Regions from separate parts of the Homo sapiens genome. Here region 1 is linked to region 2. The links are contacts of gene promoters, found by promoter capture Hi-C in human tissues and cell types (Jung and others, 2019). All regions are on one chromosome and are shown on one strand. The core of a region is centred on a gene start or on the middle of the fragment in contact, and the rest is flanking DNA. Distances in the headings are between cores, read along the strand shown.

What was found. Contacts are between HindIII fragments. The study calls those that stand out against the background at their distance.
Region 1: a fragment that was not itself captured here is called in contact with the fragment with the promoter of ZNF195 in region 2 in 1 of the 25 tissues and cell types used here (H1 embryonic stem cells).

The regions. Positions count from the first base shown.
Region 1 is chr11:3,435,929-3,441,854 of GRCh38, forward strand. It overlaps the pseudogene ENPP7P15. Among named protein-coding and RNA genes, the nearest start is that of ZNF195, 60 kb to the left of the region's middle. RefSeq lists a silencer at 1,639-1,807. The HindIII fragment of the contact is 6,241 bases long and covers 1-5,667 here.
Region 2 is chr11:3,376,854-3,383,032 of GRCh38, forward strand. It overlaps ZNF195 (zinc finger protein 195), which reads right to left and starts at 2,293. Exons shown (of 6, transcript NM_001130520.3): 1 at 2,185-2,293. The coding sequence starts at 2,187. It also overlaps the pseudogene TSSC2. RefSeq lists enhancers at 1,994-2,557, 2,246-2,540 and a silencer at 1,999-2,068. The HindIII fragment of the contact is 6,782 bases long and covers 1-5,245 here.

The sequences.
Region 1 (5,926 bases), core at 1,297-3,796, 59 kb after region 2:
CTCCTATCTCACAGTGGCGTGATCATGGCTCACTGCAGTCTCAACACCCCCGGGCTCAAGCAGTTCTCCCACCTCAGCCTCCTGAGTTGCTGGGACCACAGGCACGTGCCACTATGCCCAGCTACAGTTTTTTGCATTTTTTGTAGAGATGGTGTTTCACTGTGTTGCCCAGGCTGGTCTCAAACTCCTGAGCTCAAGCAGTCTACCTACCTTAGCCTTCTAAAGTGCTGGGCTTACAGGTGTGAGCCGCTGCACCCAGCCCAAGCTTACATTTTTAATCTCAAGTCACTTCTCTCTAGGTTTTGATTTCTTCTTTAAAATGGTGGAACTAAGAGCATCTATTTTATAGGGTTGTTGGGAAGACAAAAATGAAAGAACTGCTATTCAATGTTTAGCGAAGCGCTACGCACAATTTTGAATAATGAAGTTGCTGTTTATTTTTTATTTTTTATTTATTTTTTAGAGACGGGGTCTTGCTCTGTTGCTCAAGCTGGAGTGCAGTGGTGCAATCACAGCTTACTGCAGCCTTGACCTCCTGGGCTCAAGAAATCCTGCCACCTCAGCCTCCTGAGTAGCTGGGACTACAGGCATGCATTGACATGTCTGGCTATTTATTTATTTGTTTGTTTTTTGTAGATATGGGGTCTCCCTATGTTGCCCGGGCTGGTCTTGAACTCCTGGCCTTAAGCAATCCTCCTGTCTTGGCCTCCCAAAGCACTGAGATTACAGGTGTGAACCACCATGGCCAGCCTTATTTTTATTTTTAAATCAGCCTTGTCCAGTTGAATTGGTCATTAATCTTGTATAATGGTAATTTGGGGCAGCATTGGTTGGGCGGGGGGTGGGGAACATTTGGGACCCTGTGGGCTACAACTCGTAGTATGTGCACTTATTTTATTTTATTTTGTTTTATTATATTATGTTATATTATATTTTTTTTGAGACAGGGTCTCACTCTGTTGCCCAGACTGGAGTGCAGTAGCATGATCTTGGCTCACTGCAGCCTCTGCCTCCCAGGTTCAAGCGATTCTCCTGCCTCAGCCTCCAGAGTAGCTGGAACTACAGATGCACGCCATCACTCCCGGCTAAGTTTTGTATTTTTAGTAGAGATGGGGTTTCACCATATTGGCCAGGCTGGTCTCAAACTCCTGACCTCAGGTGATACACCTGCCTCAGCCTCCCAAAGTGCTGGGATTATAGGCGTGAGCCACCGTGCCTGGCTGTGCACTTATGTTTGATTTTTGAGAACCACCCTTCCCTAATGGTTGTCTCCTAGATCCAAGGTGACTTTATTCATTTTAGAATGAACTTATCCCATTAATACTGTAACTAGAGTTGGCATACATCACGATTGGCAGAACCCGGTCATGTTTAGCGAGATGGAAGTGTTCTGGAAACTCCTCCTTCTTGTAGACCTGGAGGTGAGGGTGCGCATTCTTCAGTGCCTGGTAAAGGGCTTCCTCTTGCCCCAATTTGGGTAGGGGCAGCCCAAAGCCACCGTAGCCCGCAATATCAAACTTGACCCAGACCCTGAACTTGATGTAGTTGGTCAAGGGATCTTGTTGACGTTGGGTCTCTTCTTCACGGTGGTCACCCCATGGTCTGATGTGATGATGACGCTGAGGTGCTCTGCAGGCTGTGCTTCTCAGTGGCTCCCACCAGATACACGATGGTCCTGCCGATTTGCTGAATCATCAACTTCCTCTTCTCTGCCTCTGGCCCGAATCGATGTCCCACGTTATCTGGCTCTCTGTAGTACAGAGTCACAAAGTCAAAGTCTTCTGTGCTGAAGCAGTTCATGACGGTATCGATGTTCTCCCTCCGCTCTGTCTCGTTGCTGTTTGGGTGAGTGTAGGACTCCACCAGGGACCGCTTGACAGCCTCACCCTCGTATTTAGCACCTCCCCTGGAATAGTGGGATGATGCTGCTTTCTTCCCCTTAAAGTACAAGAAGAAAATTCCATCAGGGCCATTTCTCATACCTTTCTCACAATCAGCAAAGCTCGAGTTATCTACATCTGTGCCCCAGTCCAAAGACATAGAAAATATGTGGTGTTTGGAGTCAGACAGGGTGGAGTTAGATTCTGGGCTTCCCCAGGATCTCATAGCATCTACAACACTTTTAGTTACAAGATGTGCTATTATTTTATGGGTTACTAAGCAGAAAAATGCTGCCAACAAGACCGTGACATTCCAGTGATTGTAAGGTGTATTCTAACTTCAGAGATGGCAAAATGAAAAATAATTCCTTAGAAAAGAGGGAGATGGTAATTTCTGAGTTGTTGGTGGTGAATCTGTGCATGTGTGTTTTTTATATATATACACACATATATATACACATACGTATACATGTATATATATATGTGTATATATAGACATAACTATATACATATACATATATATATGTGTATATATAGTGGTGCAGTGGTACAATCATACCTCATTGCACCCTTGAACTCCTGGGCTTAAGCGATCCTCCCACCTCAGCCTCTTGAGTAGCTGGGGCCACAGGCATGTACCGCCATACCTATTTTTTTTTTTTTTTGAGACACAGTGTCACTCTCTCACCTAGGCTGGAGTGCAGTGGCACGATCTCAGCTCACTGCAACTTCTGACTCCTGGGTTCAAGCAATTCTCGTGCCTCAGCCTCCCAAGTAGCTGGGATTATAGACACGTGCCACTATGCCCAGCTAAGTTTTGTGTTTTTAGTTGAGATAGAGTTTTGTCGTGTTGGCCAGGCTGGTTTCGAACGCCTGGGCTGAAGTGATCCACCTGCCTTGGCCTCCCAAAGTGCTGGGATTACATGTGTGAGCCACTGTGCCTAGTCCTAATTTTTTTTTTTTTTTTTTTTTTTAGTGTTTGTAGAGATGAGATCTCGCTAATTTGCCCAGGCTTGTCCTGAACTCCTGGGCTCAAGTAATTCTCCTGCCTCAGCCTCTCAAAGTGCTGGGATTACAGACGTGAGATACCGCGCCCGGCTGGTGGTGAGTTTTAAAATTTTCCAGTGTCTCAGTGTTTCTACCTGTAGAATGCCAAAAAGTAGATGGCATCTTTGCAAGGATTAAGCCGACTAGCTTTTTTTTTTTTTTTTTTTTTTTTGAGACAGAATTTCTCTCTTGTCACCCAGGCTGAAGTGCAGTGGCGTGATCTTGGCTCACTGCAACCTCTGCCTCCTGAATTTAAGTGATTCTCCTGCCTCAGCCTCCCAAGTAGCTGGGATTAAAAAGCCAGCTAGCTTTAAGATACAGTGTTGGGCATCACATTTTGGCACGGAGCAGGCACTCTTTTCTTTGCCCCCACGTGGGACTAAGCCACCACAAGCCTTCCCTGGTGTGTGCAGTAGGTAATGAATGCTTGCCTGCTCAGCACCCACTACATGCTGGGCTGGGTCACATTACTCTGACTCCCCCTTGAGCTTCAGTCCATGCCTGGTTCAAGATGTATTGACTCAACTCGAGGATCCGGAGGTGGGATGTGGCTCTGGCCTGGCCAGAGGACCGAGGATGCTGCATGCCATGGCTACAGCAACCGGTTCAGCTTTGGGCTCATGTCCTAGTCAGAGCCAATGAGATGTAATCTTGGGATATCTGCTGGGCTGTTCGGAGGGGACAGGCTGCCCTGCTCATCCCCATTCCTGATGCTGAGGGATCTGAGAAAATCACTTGTAAAATTCGGGGCTGTTTGGAAGAAGGGGAGACTGATGTCTCCTTCTCTCTACAGACATCTGCTCAGCTACAGAGCTTGACTGACCTACCCAGAGGCAGAATGATATGGTGGTTAAAAGTGTGCTATGGGCCGAGATCTTGCCATTGCACTCCAGCCTGGGTGACAGAGTGTGACTCCGTCTCAAAAAAAAAAAAAGTGTGCTCTGGGCTGGGCGCGGGGGCTTACGACTGTAATCCCAGCACTTTGGGAGGCTGAGGCAGGAGGATCGCTTGAAGTCAGGAGTTTGGGATCAGACCCTATATCTAGAAAAATGTTTTTAAACAATTAGCTGGGTTGGTGGTGAATGCCTGTAGTCCCAGCTACTCGGGAGGCTGAGGCAGGAAGATTGCTGGATCCCGGGAGTTCAAGGCTGCAGTGAGCTATGATCAGGCCACTGCACTCCAGTTTGAGGGACAGAGAGAGACCGCATCTCCCTAAAGAACAAAAATGTGTGCTCTGGTGCCGCACTGCCTGGTTAGATCCTTTGTCCACCACTTAGATGCATGTTATATAAATGCTCTCCTCAGTTTCCTCGTCTGTAACTTGGGGACGATAGTGCTGCCCCATGAAGTGGTTGTGGGGGCTAAATGCACGTGGGCACATTGGTAAGCATTCAACAAGCTTGATTTTTCCTGGAGAGGGAGAAAGAGCATACAGTGAAGTGGCATGGTCAGGTGCATTGGGGTAAAGATTATTTCCTCTGGCTTCTGCCTCCTGGGAGGTACTAAGGATGGATGTGAAATGTGTCTGCAGACCCCAGAGTTGGGGACTGCAGACAGAAATTGAGATCAGGGCCCCAGTCTGGCAGAAATGGGTGCAGCATGGGGCATTGGGTTCCTTCCATCAAAGGCATGGGGTGTGTTGCAGACAGTCATGAGATGTGGCTGAATCTTGCAAGGGAGCCGCGGTCCTAGGGTTGCTGCTTGAGACAAAGACTGCTGTCAGTGGAACCTGGTGACCTTCACCCTTCTGTGTCAGGCTGCAGACAGCAAGAGATGGCAGCAGATTACACCCAACAGGAAAAGGGCCATTGCCATCCCACAGGTTGCCATAGGAGGAGATGACATCTCTCCCTCTCCTCCTCCAGCAGTGTCAGCTGGGGAAGAGGTGGGTGGGTTTGCACAAAAGAGTAGACCACAGACCATGCTCCTTCTCCTCCAGTCTGCTGGGGCCCCAAGAGAGTCTGCAGCCCTTGGCCAGGGACCAGCTGACACAGGAGAACAAAAGACCTTAGGTTGGGATAACATGGTGGTGCAGTTCATCCTCTGGAGCTCCCTGTGAGATCAGACTGGAGCTGGTGTCCAGCTGAGACCACATCTCACTCAGATCCTTCCCTGCCATATCCTGTTTCCCTTACTCCTATCTCCTGAGAGTTCTTCCTGAATGAATTACATGCATTTAATCCCTGCCTCAGGCTCTGCTTTTAGGGAACTTGACGTAAGACAGAAATCTTAGTACTAAATACTTTGCAAGGCCTCAGAAGCTCTGCTATCCACAAGCGAGATATTACCTTCCTACCACCTGGCAGTCATAGTCTATGATGAGATTCAGCTTTATGGAAGTGCTTCTCTAAAGAACTTCCCCCAATTTAAGACGATCTAAATTTGCTTACTTGTTTACTATCCATTTAGCTGCTCTAAAATATGAGCTCCAAATCAGGGGCCATGTCTGGTTGGTTACTCATTTCCTGAGACCTAGAACGGGCCTAGCTCAGAGCAGGTGCTCACTATTGATGGAATGCATGCTGAAAGAATGCGTGAATCTCATCTCTTTTTGTGGGTGAAAAACTCATCCTATTCTCACCCTGATTAACTTTCTTTCTTTCTTTATTTTTTTTTTTTCAAAATGGAGCCATGATCTGTCACCCAGGCTGGAGTACAATGGTGTGATCTCAGCTAGCTGCAACCTCTGCCTTCTGGATTAAACCAATTCTCCTGCCTCAGCCTCCTGGGTAGCTGGGATTACAGGTGTATACCACCACGCCCGGCTAATTTTTTGTATTTTTAATAGAGACAGTGTTTCACCATGTTGGCCAGGCTGGTCCCGAAATCCTGACCTCGTGATCCACCCTCTTTGGCCTCCCAAAGTCCTGGGATTACAGGCATGAGCCACCGTACCCAGCCACTCTTGATTAACTTTATGGAAATATTTACAGAGATTCTTTCTCTTCTGGGTTCTAGCGTCTTATCTGTAACCTCTGCAGGTAATACATTTTCCTTCC
Region 2 (6,179 bases), core at 1,043-3,542:
TGCAAAAAGAGCTCATGTTCTGATGAATCTATGCAATTTACCAAGTAATCTACCATAATTTTTTTGTAGAAAATGTAAACATTCTCCACAGCCATCCAAGAAGCATTTTATGTTCCCTGGTAGCATTCCCAAAGCTAAGCCCTGGGATTCTGTTGGAAATCATCTTCCACAAAAGAACAGACCTAAGTAACTTTCTACCCTTAATCACTCTGGAGAAGAAAAAGGTATGTATGACTAGATATTTAACTTTTTTCCTGAAATTGACCTATTTCATGTCCTTTGTAAGTATTTTCTTACCTTTCAAGCTCTACTGATAAAATGTAAATTTACAATTAAAAATCCAACATTGCAGTAAGTGAATAAATTATTTCAAGGAGACACAGAGAGTGGCAGTGCCGACTGGAACACAGACACAGCTAATGACTTGTGTCAAGTCAGGCTATTCTATTCCTTGGGAGATTCTCCCACCTCCATCCTGTTCACCGAAGTGCTCACCGGCCACCCCCGATGATACACTGCACTGTGCCCCGCTGAGTGTCCCAGGTGAATTTTGCTTTACAGGTTTTGCACCATCTCACGGGGTGGAGTTTTTCTTGCTCTTTGAAACATTCTGTCTCCCTTCACAAATCTGAGAGTCCAAAGGGCAGAAATGATTTCGGTCTTTTCCCTCTGACAGGGGCATGTGATTGGCTGATCAGCCATGTGTCTCCAGGGATTGAAAGTTGGGTTGGGTGAAGACAATCTTAATGTCCTAAGTGGTTACCTCTTTAGAGGAAGAGTAGACCAGGAGATTTCTCTCAGCCCAGGGCATCCAGCTGCTCCCTGGAGAGGCCACACTTCATACCTCAGGCTGTCCTCTGAGAAATAACCCAGGGCCTGAAATTCACTAGATGCTCCAGCAGACATGGCCATGGTGGGCATCCTGTGTTATCCCTGGACAATACTGAAACTGAGGAAAAAGTCCAGAGGGTGGCTGAGAGCAAATCACCCTGTCAAGTTTCCAAAGTGGAACCTCAAACCAAAGACATTCTGGTAAGGTGTCTGTGCCTAGGGAAAATAAAAAGGAGGAGAGGCACAAAGACTTTTTACAATAGCGTCAGGGGATGATTCTCTGCTTTCCTGTCACGTGGAATGATTACAAACAGAAAACAAATCTCTTAAAAAGTGCCGTCCAGGCTGGGCGCAGTGGCTCACGACTGTAATCCCAGCACTTTGGGAGGCCAAGGCAGGCGGATCACATGAGGTCAGGAGTTCAAGACCAGCCTGGCCAACATGGTGAAACCCCGTCTCTACTAAAAATACAAAAATTAGCCGGGCGTGGTGGTGCAGGACTGTAATCTCAGCTACTCGGGAGGCTGAGGCAGGAGAATTGATTGAACCCGGGAGGCAGAGGTTGCAGTGAGCCGAGATCGCGCCACTGCACTCCAGCCTGGGGGACAGAGCGAGACTCCATCTCAAAAATAATAATAATTAAATAGCAGGCAATCCGACTGAGGTGGCTCTAGTGCCCTGGGTTCTTAGGTTAAAAAAAAAAATCTAACTCAGATGCGTTTCTTGCAAATGACTATCTTGCAGAAACAAAATTCAGGCTTCGTCAACCACAAACCTCTAATTAACTTCTGATTACAGGACCAGAAAATTTCAGCCTAGATAGCTGAAATCAGGAGATGACGTAACTGTACCGAACTAATGAATGAATGTGGTTTGCTTCCTCATGCACCTGATAAAAGCCTTTCCTTCAAGGCCGGCTGGTGGGACCTCCAAACCCAAAAAACATGGTTGGGTCCTCTGCCATTCATGAATCGCTCTTTGCTCAAATAAAACTCTTTCACATTTTTGCAAGGACTCCCTCGAGAGAAAGGAGGGACTGGGGCCCCCACGGGCTACAGATCATCCTCTTATGCACAAACCACCCACGGAGTCGGGATTCTCCCTTCCTGACTCGGGGAGACGAGGGTCTGCGGGCGAAGAGCTGCCGGGGGGACATGGCTCTGGGCTTGGGCCAAAGCCGCTCTGCAGGGATGCGCCGGGGCGCGCGGGGCCCGGCCGCCATGGTGCAGCTGGAGGGGCCTCGGGTCCGCGGAGCCCGGAACCCACCCGGGCAGCCCGGTTCCTCCCGAGCCGGTACCGCGGGTTCCAGTCCGCCCCTCCCTGTCTCTCAGGAGGCCTGGCCCCTACACTCACCATCTCCTGGCCTCCAGAGAGCCTGGCGTTTCACTTCTGGATCTCCCGGTGCCTGCGGGTCACACGACCTACGGCTAGCAGGGGACACAGAGCCGCGGGGACAGGAAGTGGAGCTCTGTCGGGACAAAGGCCCCGCTAGATCCCGGAAGCCGTCCTCTCCTCTCCAGACATGTGCCTGATTGGACAGTCCCCGCCCCTACTCCTCTGATTGGATAGGGCATCACGCCCCGCCCCCTCAGGCCCTGAGTGACAGGAGCTGTAATCAGACAATGGGCCGAATGAGACAGCAAGGACAGGTGCTGGCCGCGATCTTTTGGAGCGGGGCTTCCTGCCTGCGCTGTCCGGCCCCACCTAGAGGATATTTACATTTCATCTTGTGACTGCGGTTATGTTTATTTATAAATAATAAATATATGTTATTCACCAATGGAAAGAAGAAAATAAAGACAATCATTTTGAATTTTTATATTTTATGGCCTTCCTGGCTTTTGGTCCTTTGAACAGACAGCCTGAAATTTCAAAAAGGATTCAAGCCTCTAAGAATTAAAATGTAAGCCATGTGTGAATCTTAAATTTTCTAGTAGCCACGTTTTAAAATGTACTAAGAAACAGGTGAAGTTGATTGTAATAATTTAACCCAGTATGTAACCATTTTCCTCTATGGTCAATATACAATTGGTAAGGAAGTATATATTTTGGGGTACTAAATCTTTGAAGCTCACTCTGTATTTTACCTTTTCAGCACATTTCAGTTCAGACCAGCTGTATTCCTGTTATTCAATAGCCACACATGATCAATAGCTGCCACACTAAAGTGCAGCTCTGAGGTCTAACCTCCCTTATGTCAGGAAGTGGAGGGTCTGAAAGTCCCTTTTCAGCCAGAGGTGAGGGAACAGCCTCTTGCTACAAACATCTCTCCTCCGGTCGAAGGGTGGACGAGATGGTGATCCTAGAGAGCATAGGGGAAAGCAAAAGAAAATATCCACGGGTAGAGGACTGCTGCCCATCAATAATGGGGCCCTAAGAGGAGAGAACACATCTTCAGATCTGTCCATAGCCTTGACCTCCAACATTTAGATATGGAGGAAATAGACTAGAGGCAGACTTATCTTGCTATTTGGCCTTAGCCCTAATGATCAAGCTGTGATTGTCTGTTTCTTCCCGTGGTTGGGGGGCTGTGTGAGTAAAAGCACCAATCACATATATACATGTGTACATGCATTTCTGTATGACGGAACATTATCTTACAAAAGATCCAACTTTAAATAAGGGGGGAGAATTAGTACCTATAAAGTGCTTTCTTCTTGCAGGTAACTAGGAATCAACCTTTCATTGAATCCTGGCACCCTATCTGCCCTGGGTGCATGTATTAGTTAGCTATTGCATAACAAATCACCGAAAACTTAATAGCTCATGATTGAGTTCATCAGCCATTCACGCTGAACTCAACTGAGCTATTCTTGTCACAACTGGACTGCTTCATGTATGTATGGCCAGCTGCTGGTTGACTAGGTGGCTCTGCTTCTGGGGATGAGATGGCTATCAACAGTGGCACCTTCCTTCTCCCCACCATGGTATGTCATCCTCCAGCTGGCTAATCTCATAAAGATAGCAAGGTTCTGATAGCTTGATCTCATAAAGATAGCAAGGTTCTGAGAAACACAGAAGCATTTAAGACCTTTTGAGCCTAGGCCCAAAACTAGCACAAAAGCTGTCATATTCGCAGTTGATACGGTCTGGCTGTGTCCCCAGCCAAATCTCAACTTGAATTGTATCTCCCAGAATTCCCGTGTGTTGTGGGAGGGACCGGGGAAGGGGGTAATTGAGTCATGTGGGCGGGTCTTTCTCATGCTATTCTCATGTTAGTGAATAAGTCTCACGAGATCTGATGGGTTTATCAGGGGTTTCCACTTTTGCTTTCTCCTCATTTTTCTCTTGCCGCCACCACGAAAGAAGTGCCTTTTGCCTCCCGTCATGATTCTGAGGCCTCCCCAGCCATGTGGAACTGTAAGTCCAATTAAACCTCTTTTTGTTCGCATGTTCAGGAATGTCTTTATCAGCAGTGTGAAAACAAACTAATACAACAGTTTTCTATAGCCAGAGAAAATAGTGCCAGCCAGATGCAAAGTTTGGGAAACACATTCGGCCTCTTGATGGGAGGAGCTGTAAGAGCACACAATAAAGAGCATAGATACAGAGAGTAATGAAGCATTGCTGCTGTTTCTGCAATCAGTATTATTCTACCCTTTCTTGCAGAAGAGGTTTATATTACTGCTCCAAGTCAAGAACCTTGCCCAAAGTCCCACAGCTGCTAAGCAGCTGGGCTGGTACTCAGGATCAGCTCTGCCTGGCTCTGCAGCCCTTACTCCTGCATAGACTGCACTGCTCATACAGCTTTCCAAGGCCTGCAAGTTTCTGGAGAGTAACTCTTCTGCAATAGAGGCAGAATTCCTTTTAGATTTGGACCCATATGGTGCTGTTTACCATTGGGAATAATCAATCACCTCGAGAAATTGCAGAAGCTTCTTGGAAGGACATGGAATAATTTGAGGGAAATGGCTGATAGATGACTTTAGGAAATCAGAGCCCAACAACAGAGGAGCAATTTTAAAACAGAATGTATCCTATATGTCTGTAAATGCTTTCATTCCTTTTTGGTATTTGTAGGCTGTTCATAATTTTCAACACTGACTATAAGTACTGTGACTGAAACAACCTCTTACTCTGAAATCAAGTGACTTAAAGATACATCTGCTGAGAAGACTTTTTTTCTGCAGCAATTTATCCGAACAGCTAAGTACATCTTGGAGGTGTCCGTTGATTTTTAATAAGGAAGAGCTATTTTTCAAGCTCCTATGTGGCAAATCCCATCAGTATGCATGGAAACCAGCTACAGTGAATGCATTCTTTACCCTGAATCAATTGTTCTCACCCCTGCTACATGTAAAATCACCTGGGGGGATGGCATTTAGAATTTCCCAAACCCAAGCTGCCACCGACCAGTAAAATGAGAATCACTGGAGTGGGGCCTGGGCAACATTGTGGCTTAAAGGTCTCCGGGGGATTAGAGTGTGGGCCAGACCCCAAACCACTGCTTTTTTTTTTTTTTTTTTTACTTTTACGTTCAGGGACACAGGTGCAGATTTGTTATATTGGTAAACTCACATCATGGGGGTTTGTTGTACAGATTATTTCATACCCAGGTATTTGTTTTCTGCTATATCCCCAAGACCATGAATCATATCTGGCACATAATAAGCATTTCCTAATATTTGTTCAAAAAGGATTTGGCAGTCTTGGGGGGCAGAAGGGGGGGTGGGGAAAATTTTTAAATAACACAATTTTTTTAAAAGGCACAATGTTCTACAACGTCAAATTCTCTTGTATATTCAGGAAAGTTGAGGGTTTTTTCTAAAACATGCTGACATAATGGGAAATAAGATGCAAAATTTGCATGAATGTTTAAGACAAAGTCTGAGGTTTCCAAGAGATGTTGTGCTGGGGAGGCTGTGTGCTACAAGCTCGCAAAGCTCTGGGAGGACAAAGCATTCATCCTCCCTAGCAGAGGCCGTGAGGTGAGAAGCTCGGTGGAGCCCCCAAGCTTTGGACTTTTAATATAGAGTGTTCAGGTCCTTATAGTTAGGGCTCATGGCACAAGCAGGTCACAGGTCTCTGGCTCCTCTGACCTTTACCCTCCTTCCCAAGGGAAAATGTGACTCTCCAAAGCAAGAAACTTGAGGGCGTGGTTCACCCCAGCCCTGGCATCTGCCCAGAGCCTGAGAAGGAAGGAACAATGATCCTCCAGCTACCTCACAGGGCTGGCACAGGGGGTCACTGCCTTGTGGATTGCCCAGCTGTGTCGGGCAACCTGGACCCTATCTGTGGGGATGTAAAGAGGAAAATACAAAAGTCTCCATGAGGGCACTGGGAAGATAGAGGCAGGAGAAACCTCCAGGCCTTCACTACCCAGCCTTGGACCCATGGTGGAAAGATAA